2 separate regions of the Homo sapiens genome follow, and region 1 is linked to region 2. Evidence: promoter capture Hi-C in 16 types of primary human blood cells and fetal thymus (Javierre and others, 2016). All regions are on one chromosome and are shown on one strand. The core of a region is centred on a gene start or on the middle of the fragment in contact, and the rest is flanking DNA. Distances in the headings are between cores, read along the strand shown. Region 1 overlaps CUBN (cubilin). Region 2 holds the start of CUBN (cubilin).

Region 1 (4,743 bases), core at 305-2,804, 260 kb after region 2:
AAGGGGGAGCCATTTGCTACTGTGACTCACTATTTGTTTCTCATATGTGTAGGATTGATTATTGCCTTGTTCTGTTCAGGTTGCTTTAACAAAATATCATAAACTGGGTGGCTTATAAACAACAAAAGGCTGCAAAAGTCCAAGGTCGAGGCAGATTCGTTGTCTGGTGAGCTCCTGTTTTCTGGCTTATAGAAGGTACCTTCTTGCTGTGTCTTCATGAGCTGGAAGGGCCTCTTATAAAACACTAATCCCATTTGTGAGGGGTCCTCCCCCATGACCTAATCACCTCCCATAGGCCCCACTTCCTATACCATTAGCTTAGGGAACATATGAATTTAGGGGAACACAAACATTCCAACCATGGTATACATACCAACTCATAGAGGTATGTTATATATTCTCTCTCTCTTTATCTGTCTATCTATCTATATATATATGTATGTATACAATCTAAATGTATTTTTTCAGTTTTCAGCCTGGATCCTGGAGCTCACCATAATGAAATTTACATCTGCATGTTTATTTTATTTTACTTATTTATTTATTTGAGACTAGCTCTCACTCTGTCGCCCAGGCTGGAGTGCAGTGGCGTGATCTCAGCTCACTGCAACCTCCACCTGCTGGGTTCAAGCGATTCTCCCACCTTAGCCTCCTGAGTAGCTGGGACTACAGGTGTGTGCCACCAGCCTGGGTAATTTTTTCTTTTGTATATATATATATATTTAGTAGAGATGGAGTTTTGCCATGTTGGCCAGGCTGGTCTTGAATCCCTGACCTCAAGTGGTCCACCTGCCTCGGCCTCCCAAAGTGCTGGGATTGCAGGTGTGAGCCACCACACCCAGCCTACATCTGCAGGTTTAGAAAATTATTTATTGCGCACTAAGAGCCTACATTCTAGGAAACAGATAAGATTCTAGGTGTGGTAGAAGATGCAGACATTAATAAAAGGCTCTCAAAAGATTGTGGTTACACAAGCTTTTCTGTCAATGGGCTTTTCAGATCTCTTCTGTGCTCTCCTGGGAAAATGATGTAAAATAAAAAGCCAAAGCAGATTTAAGTCCTCTTAGAAACTCAGATTTTATCTCTCTTTGTGGATTCTTTTTGTGAAAAATAAATGTGTTGTCTGTAGAGAATTAAAATGAATACAGTGTTGTTGGAAATTATCTAGCTATTGTTCTTCCCTGATCTTTTACAATAACATTAAATGTTAAATGTGGTAAAAGAAAATCAATACGGTTTTCATCTTGTTCCTCATCAGTCTGAAAACCTTCAACCAACCAAAACCTTTTAGAAAAAAAACCAACAATTTTTTTTCTCAAGGCTGTTGAAAGGAAGCATTTATTATATATTTTATATATAAATATATATTATTTAGTCTATATTTTCAAAATTATTCCATATTATGGATTGTTTATTAGAGCTACTGCCAAAATAAATTGAAAATGCAGGCTGGGCATGGTGTCCCATGCCTGTAATCCCAGCACAGGGAGGCTGAGGCAGGCAGGTCACCTGAGGTCAGAAGTTCAAGACCAGCCTGGCCAACATGGCAGAAACCTCATCTCTACTAAAAAATATACATGTAATTAAAAAAAATAGCCAGGCATGGTGGTGGACACCTGTAATCCCAGCTACTCGGGAGGGTGAGGCAAGAGAATCACTTGAACCAGGGAGGCAGAGGTTGCAGTGAGCTGAGATTGTGCCACTGCACTCCAGCCTGTGCAACAGAGTGAGACTCTGTCTCAAAAAAAAAAAGAAAAAGCAGAAGAACCTATAAAAATGAGGACAGGATATCAAATATTATTTTTTTAAACAAGTTTTAAAAATAAGCTATAATAAACCCACCACAAAACTCTAAAGTAAATCCATGTAAGAAGCCTTGCTTGTTCAGGAACTCTAGAAATCGTTATTTGAAATGACAAAGAATAAGACCTGAATTAAACACTGTATAAGACAGAGAAAAGTTAGGGATGCATCTGTCAGGATAGGTTATGCACATAGTAACAAACAACTCCACCTCACAGCAGCTTAACTCAACAAGTTGATTTCTCATTGTAATGAGCATGTTCAGTGTGGCCTGGCATGGAAGCTCTGCTCATCGTGGTCATCCAACAACCCAGGCTGATGGAAGCTTCGTTTTTACATTTGCTTCCATGATCATCACTGCAGTGGGAAGGCAGTGTGGCAAAGCAAGTAGTCATTTGTAAAGCTTCTTCCGTAAAGTAATATGTATCCCTTCTGCTTACATTTCTGTGGTCAAAGCAACTCCTAGCAGCCATGTCAAGCCTCAAAGTGTGCCCCTAGGGCAATCCTACCAGTGCTGGGGAGGCAGAGAGCTGGGACCATGTGCAGAAGTGTCAGTGACCACCACAGAGGTCTTAAATGTAAATTTCCTGTTCTTCACCTGACCTTAACATAAACTTCATTTTAAAAGAGGAAAATGAGACTGTGAGGAGAATGGAGCTGTGATTCTAAAAGCAGCATTTCTTCTATTATATTAACATGCTTCCCATAAGTTCTACTTCATCTCATAAAATAACAAGGGAAGAGTAAATATGGTATTTTTAATGAGACCTAAAAAACTAAAGTATTGCTGGGATAGTAAATATCAGTTCAACTTGTCAAAAGTTGTTCTCAGATGGACTTTAATATGCCCTAGACTGTGAATTCCTTGAAAAGTAAGACTGTATCTTACTCACTTTGACATCCCCAGCTGCTGTCACAGTTTTTGTTGTATTGTAATTACTAAAAACAAATTTGGCTAAACTTTTGAACTGATCAGTAAAGTACTGTTTGATTTCTAATATTTCATATCAAGTGAGTTTTGAATGCTCTACTGGTAGTTTTTTCCTTGTCATTTTTTTTGCAAGAGCTAAAGCTACAATTTAATAGAAGTCCAAATGGAAACATCAGTATTAACAAGGTACATTTCACAGGTTCAGTGATTTTGATGTGGTTCCCTCCACCTCCTGCTCCCATGACTACCTGGCAATTTACGATGGTGCCAATACCAGCGATCCCCTTCTTGGCAAATTCTGCGGTTCCAAGCGCCCACCAAATGTGAAGAGCAGCAATAATAGTATGCTCCTGGTGTTCAAGACAGATTCATTTCAGACAGCAAAAGGCTGGAAGATGTCTTTCCGGCAGACATTGGGTAAGAATTCTGGACTTGTAAATCTATTTGTCAGGACTGTTACCTTTCTGCTTTATTTAATTTCCCCGCCCCCCCCCCACCCCCACCTGATTATGATTGCTTTTCCTTGAAGCTTAGAAGAATATGCCATGTAAGGGCTTGGTTTTAAAACTTACGTATGACATATTTTAATGTTGTAAAAAAATCACTCAACAAATGTACCCAGCACTTTGGGAGGTTGAGGCGGGTGGATCACCTGAGGTCAGGAGTTCAAGACCAGCCTGGCCAACATGGTGAAACCCCATCTCTACAAAAATACAAAAATTAGCTGGGCATGGTGGTGTGTGCCTGTAATCCCAGCTACGCAGGAGGCTGAGGTGGGAGAATTGCTTGAACCCAGGAGATGGAGGTTGCAGTGGGCCAAAATCATACCATTGCACTCTAGCCTGGGTGACAGAATGAGACTCTGTCTCAAAAAAAAAAAAAAAAAAATCACTTTGGTAGCACAGTGGAGGAAGGCTAGAAGAACCTACAACATGGGAAGGAAGAAGCTTATGATAGAAATCTAGATGGGAAGTGTCAAAGCCTTGAACGGACCCAGAGGGGAAAGAGATAAAGGGAAGGGCAGAAATCTGAGAGACGGAAGGCAGAATACATTGGAAGCACAGTGTTTGGACTCTGATGATATTTTAATGAGGACATGAATTGAGGATGACTTTCTATAGGTAATTTGTTGGATGATGGTGGCTTAGGAGACTAAGATTTAAGGGAGAAATGTTTTATTTAATTTGGAGTATTTTAAGTTGGAAGACCTGTTTAAATGGAGCTGTCTAGTTGGAAGCTGATGCTTGAGAAGGAATTTGGACTGGAGAGGGTGATGTAGCGGGGGTAGGTAAAGTTAGGTGAGAGGATAAACTGAAAATATGCCCCAGATTACTCCCACTGCATGTGAGAAATAAATTATCCACATCAAACACCACTGGTGAGAAATACCCATATCAAATTAACTCAGAATTTTGAATAATTTAAAATAAAAGGTAGTTAATCAATTACCTGTTTGGCTATTCTAACAGCATCAGTGACACAGTCTAAGATCATTAATATTCGACTCTGGAAAGTGTTTTGATCCTTTTCCTTTTGAATATAGATGTGATTAATGTTCTAAAAATGCACAACTCTCCAAACAAATCTCATACTCTGTGAAGACTCAGAAAAATCCAGGCAGTTTTCTGTAATAATAACCCTGATTCACTTTTCAAACTTTCTGTTTCTTCCATAGTGTGGATAAACTTCGTTTCTCTGATGCAAAACGGAGTTTACCTTCAACTTCTTGATATTGGGCATGTGAATTTTTCCATGCAGTACTTGAGGAAAGCAATTAGACATTGTGTTTTGAAGGCTTCCCGGTAAACCACACACCTCAAGACAAATTGTATCAGAAAATCCCTTTGCCACCTCCCCTACTTAGCTGTCTCAACAGTAACTTGAAAGCAAGTCTCACGGGCAGTGAGAGAGTGTTGCCTTAACAGAATTGTGTAGGTGAAGTAGCATACAAAAGCCAGAAGGCTATTTTGAAAGAAAAATTAATTTTCCTTTGGAGATTTTTTTTTGCA
Region 2 (4,086 bases), core at 339-2,838:
TTAAAAAAAATTTTTAAAAGCAGTGACTATTTGAGTATCACAAGTAAAGTTTTTTTTTGTTTTGTTTTGTTTTTGAGACGGCATCTCGCTCTGTCCCCCAGGCTGGAGTGCAGTGGCATGATCTCAGCTCACTGCAAGCTCCGCCTCCCGGGTTCACGCCATTCTCCTGCCTCAGCCTCCCGAGTAGCTGGGACTACAGGCGCCCGCCACTAAGCCCGGCTAATTTTTTGTATTTGTAGTAGAGACGGGGTTTCACCACGTTAGCCAGGATGTTCTCGATCTCCTGACCTCGTGATCCGCCCGCCTCGGCCTCCCAAAGTGCTGGGATTACAGGCGTGAGCCACCGCGCCCGGCATAAGTAAAGAATTATAAGCTATGGTACATAATGATCCTCTCCTCAAAGAGCCTACATAAGTAAGACACAAAATAAGTAAAACACAAACAGGCTTGTCCTGAAAGAGCCTGCATGGGTATTAACCAATGCAATGGTAATTACCTAGAGATTTTTCTTAGAAGTGAAATTTTTACAGCTCTCCCTCAAATTCAGTTTTGTCTGTGTGCTCATGGAAAGTCTGAGTGCATCAATAGTTGATTTTACAATCGAAATGTAGAATATTTTCATCACTCTCAGTGGTTTCTGTAGTCCCAGCACAGAGTGAGTGGGGACATCAGTGCTCCATGTCCTCAAACCATATATCCAGCTGGAAGGGTGTATAGCGCAGTGTGGAAAGTGGGAATGGATTCCACAGCCGTCCATAGGTCCCACAGGGATGATAAAAAGTAAAAAGTACAAATTCTTTGTACATTCTGGATATTAACCCATTTTCATATATATATGATTTGCAAATATTTTCTTCCATTCTGGGAGTTGCTTTTTCACTCTGTTGATGTATTTTTTGATGCACAAACGTTTTTAATTTTGATGTATTCCAATTTATATCTTTTGGTTGTCTGTGTGTTTTTCTTTTTTTGCCCATGCTTTTGGTATCATACTCAAGAAATCATTGCCAAATCCAAAATCCAAGGTCATGAATTTTTGTCCTATTCTTCTGAGTTTTATGTTATAGTTTCAGATTTTTTGAACCATTGTGAGTTAATTTTATAGTTTTAGCTCTTAGATTTAGATCTTTGAACTTTTTTGAGTTAATTTTTGCATATGGTATGAGGTAAGCCTCCAACTTCTTTTGCATGTGGATATCTAGTTTTCCTAGCGCTGGGTAAAGGTGGAACTCCTCTGCAAGGGAGGTGAGGAAGGAGGGGAACAGAGAAAGGTGTAGATAATGACCAGTTTACTTTTGTTGAAACCTAGTTACTTCTTAAGCAAAGATTGTTTAAGTGGATGTTTTCAAAGCTGCTTGTTACTGTTTCAAAGGTCAAATAGATAATGATTAAGTTGCGCATCACTTAAGGTAGATTTTGACCTCTCACAAGTTGAAGAGTACTGAAGATCTAAGATCATTTACATCCCTCTGGAAGAAAAAATAACATAGCCTTCTAGGGCAAAGAAGAAAAAACTCAACAGTTACAGGATATTCCATGGTTCAAAGTACACCTGCCTGGTTTGCTGTTCTCCAAAATCCCATGCTCAGTTGGTTGGAGTGGCCTCACTCTTACCTGCCAACCTGGGAGGTTGATGATGAACATGTCTTTACCTTTTCTTTGGAGTTTGCTTACCTTATTAATATTTGCTGAAGTAAATGGCGAAGCTGGAGAACTTGAGCTGCAGAGACAAAAAAGAAGCATCAATCTCCAACAGTAAGTAAACACATGGGTCATTCCTGCTCAGGGACTAGGCTAATTCCTCACCAGTTTTCCCAAATAGCCAGATAAACAAAGGTGCAATTTTTCTTGAGGAAAATTATGTTGAGAAGCAAACAGGGAAAAACATTTAGACTGAGGTATGAAATTACTTTCCTATGCACAAATTATTATCTGTCATTTTGCAAATAATCTGTTTGCAATTGCCAGGAGGTATCTCTGAGAAATGTGCAGAGAAAAAAGTGGCAGATGAGCAGGGGCAGTTGGGTTGAGATGATCAAAAAGTGAAGATGTATTTGGCCTGTAGTTATTCAGTAAGAAACTTTGTTATTTTGGTTTAAAAATTGTACTTGCTAATTACTGATGCATTCTCTCGTTTGAATTATATAGGCCTCGAATGGCTACAGAGAGAGGAAATTTGGTGTTTCTTACGGGGTCTGCTCAAAACATTGAGTTTAGAACCGGATCCCTGGGAAAAATTAAATTAAATGATGAAGATCTCAGTGAGTGTTTACATCAGGTAATACACTGGAAATATATTGAAGTCATTTTGTATATCCATATACGGTGACTTAATTGAACAAGTCTAGATTAATCTGTACCTTGAATCTTTTTTAATTATTATTTTTTATTAATACATAATTTGATACATTCCTATAATGTGTAAAGTTCAAATCAGGGTAATTGGGATATCCATCACCTTAAATATTTACCTTTTCTTCATGCTAAGAACATATGAATTGTTCTCTTCTAGTTATTTTGAAATGTACAATAGATTAATGTTAACTATAGTCACCCTACTGGTCTATCAAACACTAGGTCTTATTTCTTCTATCTAACTATATATTGTATTCATTAATCAACCTGTCTTCAGCCTCCCTCCCCCTTCCTAGTGTACCTTGAATCTTTAGCATAGAGAACATAATTGGGCATCAGACATGTTCTTGTAAAGGACGATGGCCTGGGGTTAATAGTGGGTAGAGGGAGTATGCTAAAAGATAGAAGCTCATTGTGCCAGACAATGCACCCTAGTCCAGAGAAGGCACGGAGGGTGGAACTGAAACTCCTCCACAGGGGATGCGAGGAAGTAGGGGACCAAGGATATGTGGACATGTGACCAGTTTGCTTTTGCCACAGAACAGAATTGGCCAGTTATTCTCCTGCCTTACTGGGTGTTTTCATTTCCCAATAATCACTGCATATTTCAGTCATAATGTTAGAAGTCAGCATTATTCAGAGCTTACTGTGGGCCATCCACTGTGCTTAGCACCGTATGGATGTTATCTCATTTGACCTTCACAGCTGTCCTATGAGGTGGCCTTTATTGTCACCCTAGTTTTACAAGAGGTAAAGAAACCCTGAAGCAGTTAGGTAACTTGCCCAGGACAGCAATAAATAGCTGAGCCAGGACTTAAAACCTAAACAGTCTGCTTCCAAGCCAGGTTTCTTAATAAGCACCCTAAACTGGTATTATAGGAAAACATACAAATGGAAAATACCTTGATCTATTGTTACTGAAAAGGATAAGTGGAATTATGCTGTGGCTATTTTAGCCCAGTGTTTATTACGCATGGTGTTGTTTTGGTTTTTATAATAATAGGCAAGATCTTAGTGCTTAAAGTAGAATACTACTCAAGTTTTTAATTATGTTACTGTAAAGATAAATATGATATTTTCACTAGTGCTCTTCATTTCTTCTTCTTTTTCTAAAATTAGATCCAGAAAAACAAAGAAGATATTATAGAGTTAAAAGGGAGTGCAATTGGTCTGCCTCAAAATATATCTAGTCAAATCTATCAGCTTAATTCCAAGGTAAGTCTGACATCTACGTCATAAGAACCGATGAGTTCTCCCTAGTTCTATTGTATAAGTAACCGTTTTGTAGGGGATATACCAACTTTGTGTGCTCTTTAGAGATTTAGCATGTAACTACTCACTGTTTGGTTAAATGACACAGCTGTAATGGAGGCTGTAGAAGTGATGGACAGAAGGCAGGAAATGCTGTGCAAGCACTTGTTGCAGAAGTAGGCCTTGGGCTGGGAGCAGTGGCTCACTGCAAGTGAATGGATGATTAATATAAAAAACTGCCTGTAATCCCAGCAGTTTGGGAGGCCACAGAGGGAGGGTCGCTTGAGCCTAGGAGTTTGAGACCAGCCTGGGCCACATAGTGAGACTCCGTCTCTACCAAAAAAAAAAAAAAAAAAAAAAATAGCTGGGCATGGTGGCATGAGCCTGTACTCACAGCTACTTGGGAGGCTGAAGTGGGAGGATGGCTTGAGCCAGGGAGGTTGAGACTGCAGTGAGCTATGATCATGCCACTGTGCTCCA

The links. Contacts are between HindIII fragments. The CHiCAGO score rates a contact against its expected background, and 5 or more counts as called.
Region 1: a fragment that was not itself captured here is called in contact with the fragment with the promoter of CUBN in region 2 in 11 of 17 cell types (activated CD4 T cells, M1 macrophages, total CD8 T cells and 8 more); the score reaches 15.5 in activated CD4 T cells.

The regions. Positions count from the first base shown.
Region 1 is chr10:16,868,044-16,872,786 of GRCh38, reverse strand. It overlaps CUBN (cubilin), which reads left to right. Exons shown (of 67, transcript NM_001081.4): 59 at 2,934-3,151. Among named protein-coding and RNA genes, the nearest start is that of RSU1, 53 kb to the right of the region's middle. The HindIII fragment of the contact is 1,153 bases long and covers 978-2,130 here.
Region 2 is chr10:17,127,313-17,131,398 of GRCh38, reverse strand. It overlaps CUBN (cubilin), which reads left to right and starts at 1,588. Exons shown (of 67, transcript NM_001081.4): 1 at 1,588-1,755; 2 at 2,149-2,278; 3 at 3,475-3,570. The coding sequence starts at 1,634. The HindIII fragment of the contact is 5,551 bases long and covers 1-4,086 here.